5 separate regions of the Homo sapiens genome follow, and regions 2, 3, 4 and 5 are each linked to region 1. Evidence: promoter capture Hi-C in 16 types of primary human blood cells and fetal thymus (Javierre and others, 2016). All regions are on one chromosome and are shown on one strand. The core of a region is centred on a gene start or on the middle of the fragment in contact, and the rest is flanking DNA. Distances in the headings are between cores, read along the strand shown.

Region 1 (2,523 bases), core at 18-2,517:
TTTTTCATAGCCTTATCTCACCAGAGAAGCTAGGGCCCCTATCAAAATGAGGAAATAAAGTGGCTTGCCAAAACTCAAACACTATATTTTACCGCCACATTAACGAGAATAACACATCATGATCCCGAATGCTAGTTAAGTTGTATGACTGAACAACTTTAATCACAAAACACACCAAGGCATTCAAAAAGGGCCAAGCCCAAACACAAAGTTTCAAAACAAAACCTCTCCCAAGGTTGGGGGAGTAGCTGAGCTGGGAGCAAAAAGCACTACCCAGCAGCCCCGTTCGGCCACTAAGAAAGATCTCAAACTTAACAAAAACAGCCACAACTGCAGCTCCTGTCACCCAGAAGCGTTAAGGAAAGGAGAGGAGAGCTCGAGACAGTGCCGAGAGCTGGCCTTTCTGGAGACCGCCAGGCCGAGCCCAGCTCAGATGAGGAAGTAACTGCCAGATAAAAAAGCCCCGACCAGCTCCAACTGCAGCCTCCGTGCCTCCCATAACTGCCCACATTCCCGCCCCACTTGGGGCTCTGGGAGAAAAGGAACAGGGCGCAGGTCTCCTGGGAGAGGCTGGGGACCACAGGTCCGCGTCTTCGAGAGGGCAGCGGCAACACTGGCCGAACTCTGAGGCTCCCGGGAGCTCAAGATTCGAGAGCCTGCTCCGAAGGCGTGTTGGGGGGAACGCCGAGAAAAGGGTCGCCCAGGAGGCGGGGCCTGCTGGCTGCAAGCAGCAGCTCCGGACGCCCTGGCCGCCCCCCGGGGGAAACCGGGGCGCACACCCCGACGCGGAAGCCATGCCGGCAAGCGCTCGGGGTGCGGAGGTGCCGGCGGGGGGCGCTAAGGAGACCCGGGGGCACGGAAATGGGTCACCCCCATCCCACCGCCCCCTCACAAAGGCCCCCGGGGAGGCCGCCCGCAGGCCCCGCAGCCCCGGCCTCGAGTGCCCGACTCGGCCGCCACTCACCGCTAGGTCCTGGGGCACCGCCCCGCTCATGGCCCGCACCGTGCCGGCCCGCCAGGCTCGAGTGCGCAGCGCAGGCCCCGGATCTCCGCTCGCCGCTGCCGCCGCGGGAGCCGAGGCCGAGGCTGAGGCCGCAGTGTCCGCGAACAGCAGCAGCAGCCGCTTGCCCACCGGGGAGGCCGCCGCGTCCGCCATCGCCGGGGCCGGCCTGACCCGCGCTCCCGCCCGCCGCCTCCCACCACCTCCGCCGCCAAGCGCCCGATCCGCCCGCAAGGCCTCCCTCCGCACCACCCGCGGCCGCCGTTCCCCCCCACCCCCCCCAACAGCCACCACCAACCACCGGCGCAGCGCAGCGCCCCCCGTGGCCGGGAGCGGAGCCGCAGCCTGGGCCCCGCACAGCGCCCCCCGCGCTCTGGAGCGGGGCGACAGCTCCTGGCCCCTCGCAGCGCTCCGCCCCAATCTCCCCGGGGCCTGCAGTGCCCCCTGCGGTCTGGAGGGGAATTGCAGGTCCGGCCGGGGTAGGGAAGTGGGCGGGTCCTTCAGCTTCCCCATGGCATCATCCCTGGTCTCAATCTTCCTTCAGGGAGTCGTATATATGAGAGGGCTTTAGCTTGCTCTCCTCGGATACCAAAGACATTTACGGGGTAAGGGGGTGAGGGGCAAGGTACCTAGAGAGTGGATGTTTTGAGCTATTTAGTGTCTCCAATACCCCCATTGATTTCCTATCCTGAAAATATGAGCTCCTACCTGCTGTCTTGTAGGAAATGTTCTCCCCATTGGTCCATGAGACACAATGTCTTCCTTCTCAATGGCCCATAACAGCACCATCCCATTCTATACTGCCAGCACTTCTTAGGTTCCTTTCCAATTGGCCAATGTATTACTTCCATTGGATGTATAATGCCACTCTTTCCACTGACTGAAGGCCAACGTGCCCCCCAACATCTTGGTGTTTTTCCTAAAACCGACCTAACTTCTTCCCCTTCCTAGTCTGCCAATGTTATTAAGTCTACGTGTTTCTCCATTCAACTCTTAGGGGAACTGGAAATAGACCAACAGTAAAGGGGTTCTCTTAGTAGCACTCCATCTTACCATGGAATTAGTGGGGCTGGGGGCAAAGAAAATTCTGTAACTCTTATCTGAATGCATTTAATACAGGTGTGGGAGACTGATAGCTCCTGATTAGAAAAGGAGCCTGCAGAGAAAGTGAGATGCTGAGATTTTTGGCTAGATTGTTACCCACAATAAGCAACAGGAAATTGCCTCAATCATTTAAAGCTGGCAATATCAGGGACTAGCACATTCCATGGTCTCATGGATGCAGAGACTGAGTATACACAAAATGGATACAAAAGATAAAGGGTATAGTAATAACCCATGACTGTTGTTCTAAAAGTGACTTTTTGATTTTCCCTACAGACAGGAAATAGTGGTAGCTGGTTCTTTCTCCAAGGCTTCTGTGCCTACCCCAGCTATCTCCTGTCCATAACCTTGTCTACACCCTTGACCTACTTTTCTTGTAACAAAGGCTTGGGGAGAGGGGTAACCAACTATTGACTTTA
Region 2 (2,523 bases), core at 18-2,517, 990 kb before region 1:
GGCCGAGTTGTTTCTTATATTCATCATCTTCCCCTAACTTCCTATCTTTGTAAAATAGTTCAAAAGGCTACCTGAGGATTTATCATTCTAAGCCAGTGTCCAAAACATCTTTTTTTTTTTTATGGATGTACCACAGTTTTTTAAAAATTATTATTATACTTTAAGTTTTAGGGTACATGTGCACAATGTGCAGGTTAGTTACATATGTATACATGTGCCATGCTGGTGTGCTGCACCCATTAACTCGTCATTTAGCATTAGGTGTATCTCCTAATGCTACAAAACATCTTTTGCCTTCATGTTTGAATAAAAATGTTGTATGGCCTGGCGTGGTGGCTCAGGCCTGTAATCCCACCACTTTGGGAGGCCAAGGTGGGTGGATCATTTGAGGTCAGGAGTTCTAGAAAAGCCCGGCCAATATGGTGAAACCTTGCCTCTACCAAAAATACAAAAATTAGCCGGGCATGGTGGTGGGCGCCTGTAGTGTCAGCTACTCAGGAGGCTGAGGCAGGAGAATCGCTTGAACTCGGGAGGTGGAGGTAGCAGTGAGCCAAGATCGCGCCACTGCACTCCAGCCTGGGCGACAGAGCGGAACTGTGTCTTAAAAAAAAAAAAAAAAAAAAAAAGTTGTAACATGAGTATTTCCATGTAAATGTGCTAAAAAAAAAATTAGTTGTAACAGAATTCTGAGATGTCTGTGCTTCCTGTTGATAATCTATTGTCAATAATTCCAACTTTCAATGTTGTAGAAAATCAATTTTCTTTCCTTTTAAAAATCCTGTTCTAGGCTGGGTGCAGTGGCTCACACCTATAATCCTAGCACTTTAGGAGGCCAAGGGAGGTGGATCACTTGAGGTGAGGAGTTTGAGACCGGCCCTGGCCAACATGGTGAAACCCCATCTCTAGTAATACAAAAACTAAGCCAGGCATGGTGGCGCACAGCTGTAGTCCCAGCTACTCGGGAGCCTGAGGCAGGAGCACTGCTTGAACCTGGGAGGCAGAGGTTGCAGTGAGCTGAGATGGTGCATTCCAGCCTGAGCAACAGACTGAGACTGCATCTCAAAAAATAAAAATAAGCTGGGCGCAGCAGCTCACGCCCAGCACTTTGGGAGGCCAAAGGGGGTGGATCACGAGGTCAAGAGATTGAGGCCATCCTGGCCAACTTGGGCGAAACCCCGTCTCTAAAAATGCAAAAATTAGCTGGACATGGAGGTGCACGCTTGTAGTCCCAGCTACTCGGGAGGCTGAGGCAGGAGAATTGCTTGAACCTGGGAGGCAGAGGTTGCAGTGAGCTGAGATGGTGCCACTGCATTCCAACCTGAGCATCAGAGGGAGACTGCATCTCAAAAAATAAAAATAGGCCAGGTGCGGTGGCTCACGCCTGTAATCCCAACACTTTGGGAGGCCAAGGGGGTGGATCATGAGGTCAAGAGATTGAGACCATCCTGGCCAACATGGTGAAACCCCGTCTCTAAAAATACAAACATTAGCTGGGCGTGGTGGCACATGCTTGTAGTCCCAGCTACTGGGGAGGCTGAGGCAGGAGAATCACTGGAACCTGGGAGGCGGAGGTTGCAGTGAGCCAAGATTGCGCCACTGCACTCCGGCCTGGTGACAGAGCAAATCTCCGTCTCAAAAAAATAAATAAAAATTTAAAAATCCTGTTCTAGACGACAGCTTAAGATGTTTTAACAAATTCATATATTTCACCAGATTTTGGATAGGTAAGAGCAATTTTTTCCCAGTACTACTGCCTGGAAGTCAGCAAACCCTTTCAATTTATCAACTTAGGGCTTTATTGTGTCTTCAGCTGTTTTTCCCCTCCTGAAATGCCTCTTAGACATATTGGTTTCCAGCAGTGTCCTTTTATATTGTCTATGGAATTTTAAAATACAGAAATCTTTTAGGTTTTACAATCTTTCTCCACTAGTTTCATCTTTTAAGAATTCTCATTAAAATTCAAATATAGGCCTGGTGCGGTGGCTCACGCCTGTAATCCCAGCACTTTGGGAGGCCGAGGTGGGCGGATCACAAGGTCAGGAGATTGAGACCATCCTGGCTAACACGGTGAAACCCCATCTCTCCTAAAAATACAAAAAATTAGCCAGGCATGGTGGCAAGCGTCTGTAGTCCCAGCTACTCAGGAGGCTGAGGCAAGAGAATGGCATGAACCCGGGAGGTGGAGCTTGCAGTGAAATGAGATCATGCCACTGCACTCAGGCCTGGGCAACAGAGCAAGACTCCGTTTCAAAAAAAAAAAAAAAAAAATTCAAGCATAGTTCTCTTCTGTTTCTTTCATTAATCTACCTCCATAGGCACCATCTTTTCTCATTCCCTTGGACTCTGTTTTGAACCACTGTGATCCTTACCTTATTTGCATATTTTTTAATCGTATTTTACGCATATATACGTTTAAGCATACTTCCTTTGGCAGTTAAAGAGGATCGCAACATTTTTCAATTGGTCTGTTTTCCACTCTGAAGTCTGTGAAAAGCACCGAATTTTTTGTTTTACTATTTGGCA
Region 3 (2,523 bases), core at 18-2,517, 970 kb before region 1:
GAATGGTCATGCCACTTTTAGTATTCAGACTCCCAGCATCTTTCAAATTAGAGAAAGTACAGCCCAACAACAATCTGAGAATACTTGAATAAGTTTAATTCTACCACAGAATTTATAATATGGTTAGAAAACACTAAATTGTTATGTAGCAAGGGTAAACTATGACAAGAGGTTCAACAGATGTTTTGATAACCCATCAATAAAGAAAGAAAAGGCCAGGCGCGGTGGCTCATGCCTGTAATCCCAGCACTTTGGGAGGCTGAGGTGGGTGGATCACCTGAGGTCAGGAGTTCAAGACCAGCCAGGCTAGCCAACATGGTGAAACCCCATTTCTACTAAAAATACAAAAATTAGCTGGGTGTGGTGGTGCATGCCTGTAATCTCAGCTACTTGGGAGGCTGAGGCAGGAAAATTGCTTGAACCCAGGAGGTAGAGGTTGCAGTGAGCCAAGATTGCACCATTGCAATCCAACCTGGGCAACAAGAGAGAAACTGTCTTTAAAAAAAAAAAAAAAAGTAAATAAAAAGTTATCTTCAGGAGAAAGCACTGCACTGAGTCTAGAGAGAACACTATACACATTTTACTTATATACCCCACTTATTTCCATAACTTGTTAAGTTTTCACAAAAGAACTGTTTTACATTCAACCTTACCTTTAATTTCTGATAATGAGGAAGGCTGCTGCAATGAGTATTCTTTGCAACTTCTTCATTTGTATAAAAGAGTGAACACAGCTTACAGTAAAACCCTGTTTTAGGTATCACATAGTCTATACCTAGAAATACAAACATACATTCTTACAAATTAAACTGAAGATTTTATTTAGTATTCACAATTTCACCTGTCAACATAATTTAAATGAAACAACATGTTTTTGAGAAGTCCAATACAGCCTAAGATAAAAAACAAAAACCGAACCATATTTTGCTTTTACCTAATTGATGTTTGAGGTCTCACCTAACTGTATTCTTAAAAAAAGAAATATAATACAGAAAAACAACACAGAAAAGCAAAACAAAAGCGTGTAACTTGCAAGAAATTTTACGAAAAAAGGGAACACATTGTGGAATAACAACAGAAAATAATACAAAATCAGAGACATGCATGAGAGGAAAATATATCAATTAAGATTTATAAATTGTTCCCCATAGAAACAAAGCAAATTTAAAATGCTATCACAGCTTATGTAAGACCAACTTTAAAATCTTATTTTAAAACCTAAGAGTTTGTTTTGAGGAGAGTGAGGAAGGTGAAGAACAAAGACTTAAATCTCACCAACAGGAACATTGGGCTGATATGGTCCAATTCTATACTCATCTGGGATTGTATAGTCGTCCTTGTTCTCATCACTTTGACCATCTGCGTTTTCACTTGTATCTTTGTTGGGATCATCAGCGTTCTCAGAAGATTCAGCACCTGGTTCTGTGTTTTCCTCATTTTTAATTCCATTTTCCAACGCTGCTTCGTTTTCTTGATCAAGTTCCTCGATCTTGTCCACCTTAATTTCAACCAAACCATCATCATTTTTGTCACCAGATTTAAATGCCATGCCCGATTTACGAAGTTTCTGAAGTTCCGAATCTTCCTCATCACCAACCTCATCTAGAGTGACAAAACCTTCCATACTCCCTGGAAAACGACGCTGTTAAGAAAGACAAATTTACTCTGCAACAATTATCCTGCAGCATCCCTTCTGTCTGCTTTACTTGAAGGGAAACGGATAGCGTCTTTGCCTTTTTTTTTTTGAGACGGAGTCTTGCTCTGTCGACCAGGCTGGGGTGCAGTGGCGCGATCTCGGCTCACTGCAACCTCCGCCTCCCTGGTTCACGCCATTCTCCTGCCTCAGCCTCCCGAGTAGCTGGGACTACAGGCGCACGCCACCACGCCCGGCTAATTTTTTTTGTAATTTTAGTAGAGACGGGGTTTCACTGTGTTAGCCAGGATGGTCTCGATCTCCTGACCTCGTGATCCACCCACCTCGGCCTCCCAAAGTGCTAGGATTACAGGCGTGAGCCACCGTGCCCGGCCGCGTCTTTGTCTTTATTCATTGGCTCAAAATAGTAACTTCTTCCTTTCTTCCAAAAAATTACTGATAATTTGAAAAATAATTTAGCTTATTTTAAAACTAAAAAATGGAAGGTCTGCCTCACACAAAGAGCAGAAGTTAAATGAGATAGGAATATTCATATTTTATCTTTTCTGAGACTACAATGCTGCTAGGCAATGTGTAAAAAACTTGATTTGGTAAAAGTTGAGCAATATCCTTTGTAAGACAGTATACTGCAAATACCTACTCTTTAGAGCAAATACTCAAACAGTGTAATGGCTAAAAAACCAAGCTCTGGGCCAGGCATGGTGGCTCACACCTGTAATTCCAGCACTTTGGGAGGCTGAGGTGGGCGGATCACCCTGAGATCTCAGGAGTTCAATACCAGCCAGGCCAACATGGCGAAACCTCGTTTCTACTAAAAATACAAGAATTAGCCTCGTGTGGTGGTGGACACCTGTAATCCCAGCTACTTG
Region 4 (2,523 bases), core at 13-2,512, 920 kb before region 1:
TTTTTGAGATAGGGTCTCACTCTGTCTAGACTGAGTGCAGTGGCATGACCATGGTTCACTGTAGTCTCAATCTCCTGGGTCAAGTGATCCTCCCAGCTTAGCCTCCCAAGCAGCTGGGACTACAGGTGCATGCCAACACACCCACCTAATTTCTTTTTTGTTTTTTATAGAGATGAGATCTCTTTCTGTTGCCCAGGCTTGTCTCAAACTCCTGGGTTCAAATGATCCTCCCACCTCAGCCTCCCAAAGTGCTGGGAATACAGGTGCGAGCCACCGTGCCTGGCCTGTATATTTCAAAATTGCTAAAAGATACTAAATGTTTTCACCACAACAAAATATAAGTATGTGAGGTGCTAGATGTGTTAACTAGCATGATTTACTCATTCCACAATGTAAACATGTATGAAAACCTCATGTTGTACCCCATATAACATATACAATTACTGTCAATTAAAAAAAAAAAAAAAAAAAGACGAGCAGACATGATATATTTCCCATGAATTTGAATGTTTGGCACCCTGGTCTAAAATAGCAGCTCCTAAGGACCCTTATCTGGAGAGATGGAAATAGAATGCTGCTTGCCATTTACCCCAATTTCTATAGCCTCAGGAATTATTTTATTTACCATTATTTGCCTTTTCCCTGCCTATAGTACTATAAAGCTAACCATCCCCCAAGCCCTACAGATATCACTAGCCTTAAGACCCCATATGTAAAAGGCTATTCACAGTTGAGGCATTCACACAAAGCACTCACATTTAGTTGAGAGAATCCTATTAAGGGAATGCCAACTGATCTAACAAAACAAGCTTTGATAAACAACTCCCCTGCCCCCCAACATCCTCCCCATTTCCTCCTGTGGAAACTAGTATGTCACTTTTCACAGCAACCGAGGGTCATCTCTTCTCAAAAGATTAGCATTCCAGGCCAGGCACGGTGCAGTGGCTCATGCCTGTAACCCCAGCACTTTGAGAGGCAGGAGATCACTTGAGCCCAGGAGTTCGAGACCAGCCTGGACAACGTCGTGAAACCTTGTCTCTACTAAAGCCTGGGCAACATAATGAGACTTTGTCTCTACAAATTAAAAAAAAAAAAATTATCTGGTTGTGGTGGCACACACCTATCATCCCAACTACTTGGGAAAAAGCATTCCAAAACAAAATTACTACAAAGGGAACTCAATATCTACCACTTTAATGGGGCAACAACTGTTCATTTCTGAAAATCAGTAAGCAACTAAAGCAAATATACTGTCAGCCCAAAGGAGAAATTAGTGTGGTTGTAGTTGTTCAGTTCCCAGAGCCCCCTCAATCAATATTTTAATATTTTATTAAACAGCTAGAGAATGCCCATAATTTTAAAGTGAATTACCATCAATGTTTCCCTAATAGGGAATCCATCCCTCTACAAAGGGTGTCATGACTAGCTTTTATGGTGGGTAGTAGGAGCCATGGACTTTAATTTCAGTGAAATTAGCAAAAATCCCATTGTATCTGGCCCCCTTTGAGCCCTTGGTAGGCACTAAAAATAAAGGTGTGACTTTTCCGTCTATTTTTACCAACCCCCTCTTCCCATTAGCTTTGTTCTGTTTCCAAGGTATGATTCAAGTAACTTCATGCTACCCAAACCTGTTGGACCAGAACTATTCAGGAAGGTCTGGACTTATTCTCTGCAAAAAGTCATGCTCTCACAGATTAAACCTTAATGCAAGCTTTTCCAACCCGCAGCCCAACACAAATTGGTAAACTTTCTTAACACATTATGAGGAGTTATTTTTGGCAATTTTTTTTTAAATTTAGCTATCAGTTATCGTTAGTGTTACTATATTTTATGTATGGCCCAAGACAATTCTTATCCTTCCAATGTGGCCCAGGGAAGCCAAAAAACACGCCTGCCTTAATGGATAAGCAACTATGCTGGCATCCTGGGGTAGTCAACACAAGAGTTGGCATGAACCAGGGCCAGAATGCCAACCAGCTATTGGCTGCTGTTCTCCCAGCAGTGTAACACTTGCCTAGGTACAAGACAACCTAGGCAGCTGCCTACAGCTGGAGCCAAGAGAGCTGAAGGGGTTGCACTCACCTGCAGTTGCATCTGCCACAGCCAGCCTCTCTGCAATGAAACAACTCCAGGTTAGTCAGCCAACAGTGAACACGTGTGCAGCTCAGAGTCCCTCCCCTCAAAACACGGTAACTTAGGCCTAAGCCACAGAAACAATAGCAGACAATAAAACCAATAGCTTATCCTTGTTTAGCTTTGTTTTCATCTCTTGTTACTTATACACCACAGCAGTTCAATAGTAGCAAAAGAGTCGATTAAACAAATATCAGGGAGCCTGGCTCTATCCCCTAACCAGTGTCTAGCCAAATGATACTGGGCGAGAAACCTCTCTATACCTCAGTCTCATTTGTAGAATGGAGGTATTATATTACAGGGTCTTTCTCTGCCACCCAGGCTGGAGTGCAGTGGCACAATCATGGCTCACTGCAGCCTCCACTTCCTGGGCTCAAGTGATTCTCCTAC
Region 5 (2,523 bases), core at 8-2,507, 600 kb after region 1:
GTTTTGGTGGGAAGATCTGGGTCAATTGGAATAGTACACCTTTCTCAGGGTTTTCAGTTTAATAAGGTTGTCATATTATTCCCAACATGGGAATATAGTGGCTTCTAAAGTTTGCAAATGAATTATGTAAAAGGATTTTCTGTGTATTAGGAAGGCAACCTGTTCTGTTCATGGTATATTAACACTTCATTGTCATGTGTCTACCCTTAAAATTGCTATTTGTAGTGAAGAAAAAAGCATAGTGGTATTTAGTCACTTCTGGGTTCCTCTTGTCAGTTTATATGCAAACATTTTGGCATGTGGGACTTGGGGAGGAGGGACAATTGGTTGTATGTTTTGACCACTTCCACCTATGAAAATTATCTGAACATTATTCAGATTTAAGAGTTCATGGGAGCAGGTGGTACAGAACCTAGTGTTGAATATAATTTTTGTGCCATGCTTGAATGTATTTTGACGGATTAGCAAAATAAAAGTGAACCTCCTATTTTTCATCTTAATGTGAAGATCTTTGGCATTTACATTCTTTTAAAAGTATAAATTCAGTAGTCATTAGTTGAAAGTGGTTTGAAAGGCTGTTAGAGATGATACAGGTTGAGTATTCCTTATCTGAAATTCTTGGGCCCAGAAGTGTTTTGAGTTTTAGATTTTTTTCAATTTTTGAATATTTCCATTATGTTTACCAGCTGAGCAGCTCTCATACAAAAATGTAAAATCCAAACTGCTTCAATGAGCATTTCCTTTGAATGTCATGTCTGCACTCAAAAAATTTCGGATTTTGGAGCATTTTAGATTTTTTGATTGGAATATCTGTAGTGTTTTTCAGGTCATTTAAAAAGCTCTCATTGGTACTGATTTACTGTATCCAAAAAAAAGCCTGCAAGTGGTTAAGGTTCACAGTGATAACTATCAAATCAGAATGACTATACTGATTGTACCCATTCATCCATTTTTAACTTAGTGATTTGGAACGTTTCATATTCAAATCTAATTTTCATAATTTTTAAGTAAACCTAAAAGATTGAGGATACTTGAGAAATTTGCATTTATGATTTCCTTCAAAACCAGAAGTGATGGTATCAGTTATTGGATTTGTAAACTTAGTTTACCTTTTAAGTGTGCTTAAGTTTTGAGAGTTTGCATTTTAGGTTAAATTTTGTCTGCCCGCGTCTGCTGATTGCAGATAGGCATTTGGATGTTGGATTTGGAGCAGAACTGCATCTAGACTACACGGATTTTACCCAAAAAGACAGCACTTGCACTTAGGCTAAGTGTCTTTCTCCATCGTAACCAATTTATTGAATCACTTTAAGAGTGATCATTGGGGAAATTTTCCTCCTCAGCCTTATTTTGGCCTTTTGAAACAGCAACAAAGACTGCCTAGTCAAATAACTCCTTAGCTGTCCTGCTTTTGAGTGAACTTCATATTTGCCTTGAATGAGAATTTAAATGTTACAAGGTAAAACATTTATTATAAAAAGATATTTGAAAGCTGCTATTTAAAAAGGAATTCCAAAGTAGGAAGACTAGAAGGGCAATTCTCTATTTTCCACCTATTTTTTTTACTTTGATTTGAAGCCAGATGATTTGAACCTTCAGAGAGGGAAAGGATTCAGGAAGACACCTTTGGTAGTTATTCTTAACTGTTTCCTTCTCTATTCAGGCAGGCTTTCTTTGTCTCTTTAATTCTTTTACCACTTTGTATGGTTTACTTAAAAAATCTATCTGAAATAGCTATCATTTCCTGCTATAAAGTTCTCAAGTGTAAACTTTTGCCATTTAAACAGTGTGCTTATTTCCCAGTGTTTACCGTCAATTTCATTGGGTGTTAGGCACCTTTGTGTAAGACAGTTCTATAATGTGGAGGTACACAGCAGTGAGACAAACATGGTTGCTGTCTTCATATACCTTGCGTTCTGGTTGGAATTCAATTTATTTTGAAATGGGAATTCAATTTATTTTGAGATGATGCATCTTTTCCTTTACAGCATTGTGTCACAATCTCATATTGTTCACACCATCAAAATTGGAGTTAGCTCCATTGTCATTGAATGTACATTCTCTGATGAAAATTAAGACTCTTTTCTCCTTAATTGATTACTTTTTAGAAATCAAAGGTGTATTTTGTCTTTGATGCTTACGTTGCAAATGTAATTTGCTTCATAGTGGGTATCTGATTTAATATTTCATAGCCCTTAAGGACGTAAATTTGGGCATCCAATAGACCAAATTCTGTTCCTGACACAGTCACTTTCTAGCACTGCGACCTTGGACAAACTGGCCCGAGCCTCACTTGCCTTATTTGTAAAAAAATAGGCTATGGTAATACCTGCTACATAGGATTGTTGGGCAGATTCAGTGAAAGAATGCATATAAAGAAGGGCTTACTGTAGTCTCTGGTACACAGTAATTTTACTATATGGCCCCTAATGAAGAGGTGGGACAGACTAGCAAAAGGCATACTTTTATATCTTAGTACCCGAGATATGCATGGTCTTTAGGCTTTGCTCTTTACTTGCTGGG

The links. Contacts are between HindIII fragments. The CHiCAGO score rates a contact against its expected background, and 5 or more counts as called.
Region 2: a contact is called between a fragment that was not itself captured here and the fragment with the promoter of KDM3B in region 1, in 2 of 17 cell types (monocytes and naive CD4 T cells). The highest score is 7.0, in monocytes.
Region 3: a contact is called between a fragment that was not itself captured here and the fragment with the promoter of KDM3B in region 1, in 1 of 17 cell types (monocytes). The highest score is 5.3, in monocytes.
Region 4: a fragment that was not itself captured here is called in contact with the fragment with the promoter of KDM3B in region 1 in 4 of 17 cell types (naive CD8 T cells, fetal thymus, total CD8 T cells and 1 more); the score reaches 7.1 in naive CD8 T cells.
Region 5: a fragment that was not itself captured here is called in contact with the fragment with the promoter of KDM3B in region 1 in 1 of 17 cell types (neutrophils); the score reaches 5.5 in neutrophils.

Annotation. Positions count from the first base shown.
Region 1 is chr5:138,351,429-138,353,951 of GRCh38, reverse strand. KDM3B (lysine demethylase 3B) reads right to left here and starts at 1,267. Exons shown (of 24, transcript NM_016604.4): 1 at 965-1,267. The coding sequence starts at 1,156. RefSeq lists an enhancer at 328-427 and silencers at 678-1,147, 1,228-1,467, 1,488-1,567. The HindIII fragment of the contact is 3,421 bases long and covers 1-2,523 here.
Region 2 is chr5:139,345,372-139,347,894 of GRCh38, reverse strand. The region is part of intron 1 of PAIP2 (poly(A) binding protein interacting protein 2); the gene reads right to left. Among named protein-coding and RNA genes, the nearest start is that of PAIP2, 4.8 kb to the right of the region's middle. The HindIII fragment of the contact is 8,536 bases long and covers 1-2,523 here.
Region 3 is chr5:139,324,415-139,326,937 of GRCh38, reverse strand. It overlaps MATR3 (matrin 3), which reads right to left. Exons shown (of 15, transcript NM_018834.6): 13 at 1,276-1,498; 14 at 654-775. Among named protein-coding and RNA genes, the nearest start is that of PAIP2, 16 kb to the left of the region's middle. The HindIII fragment of the contact is 5,429 bases long and covers 1-2,523 here.
Region 4 is chr5:139,275,710-139,278,232 of GRCh38, reverse strand. It overlaps SNHG4 (small nucleolar RNA host gene 4), which reads right to left. Exons shown (of 7, transcript NR_182757.1): 3 at 2,083-2,112. It overlaps SNORA74D (small nucleolar RNA, H/ACA box 74D), which reads right to left and starts at 2,053; the gene lies at 1,910-2,053. The region is part of intron 3 of LOC124901081 (a long non-coding RNA gene); the gene reads left to right. It also overlaps a transcript of MATR3 not described here. The HindIII fragment of the contact is 902 bases long and covers 812-1,713 here.
Region 5 is chr5:137,748,410-137,750,932 of GRCh38, reverse strand. HNRNPA0 (heterogeneous nuclear ribonucleoprotein A0) reads left to right here. Exons shown (of 1, transcript NM_006805.4): 1 at 1-2,523. Among named protein-coding and RNA genes, the nearest start is that of HNRNPA0, 4.7 kb to the left of the region's middle. The HindIII fragment of the contact is 3,508 bases long and covers 1-2,523 here.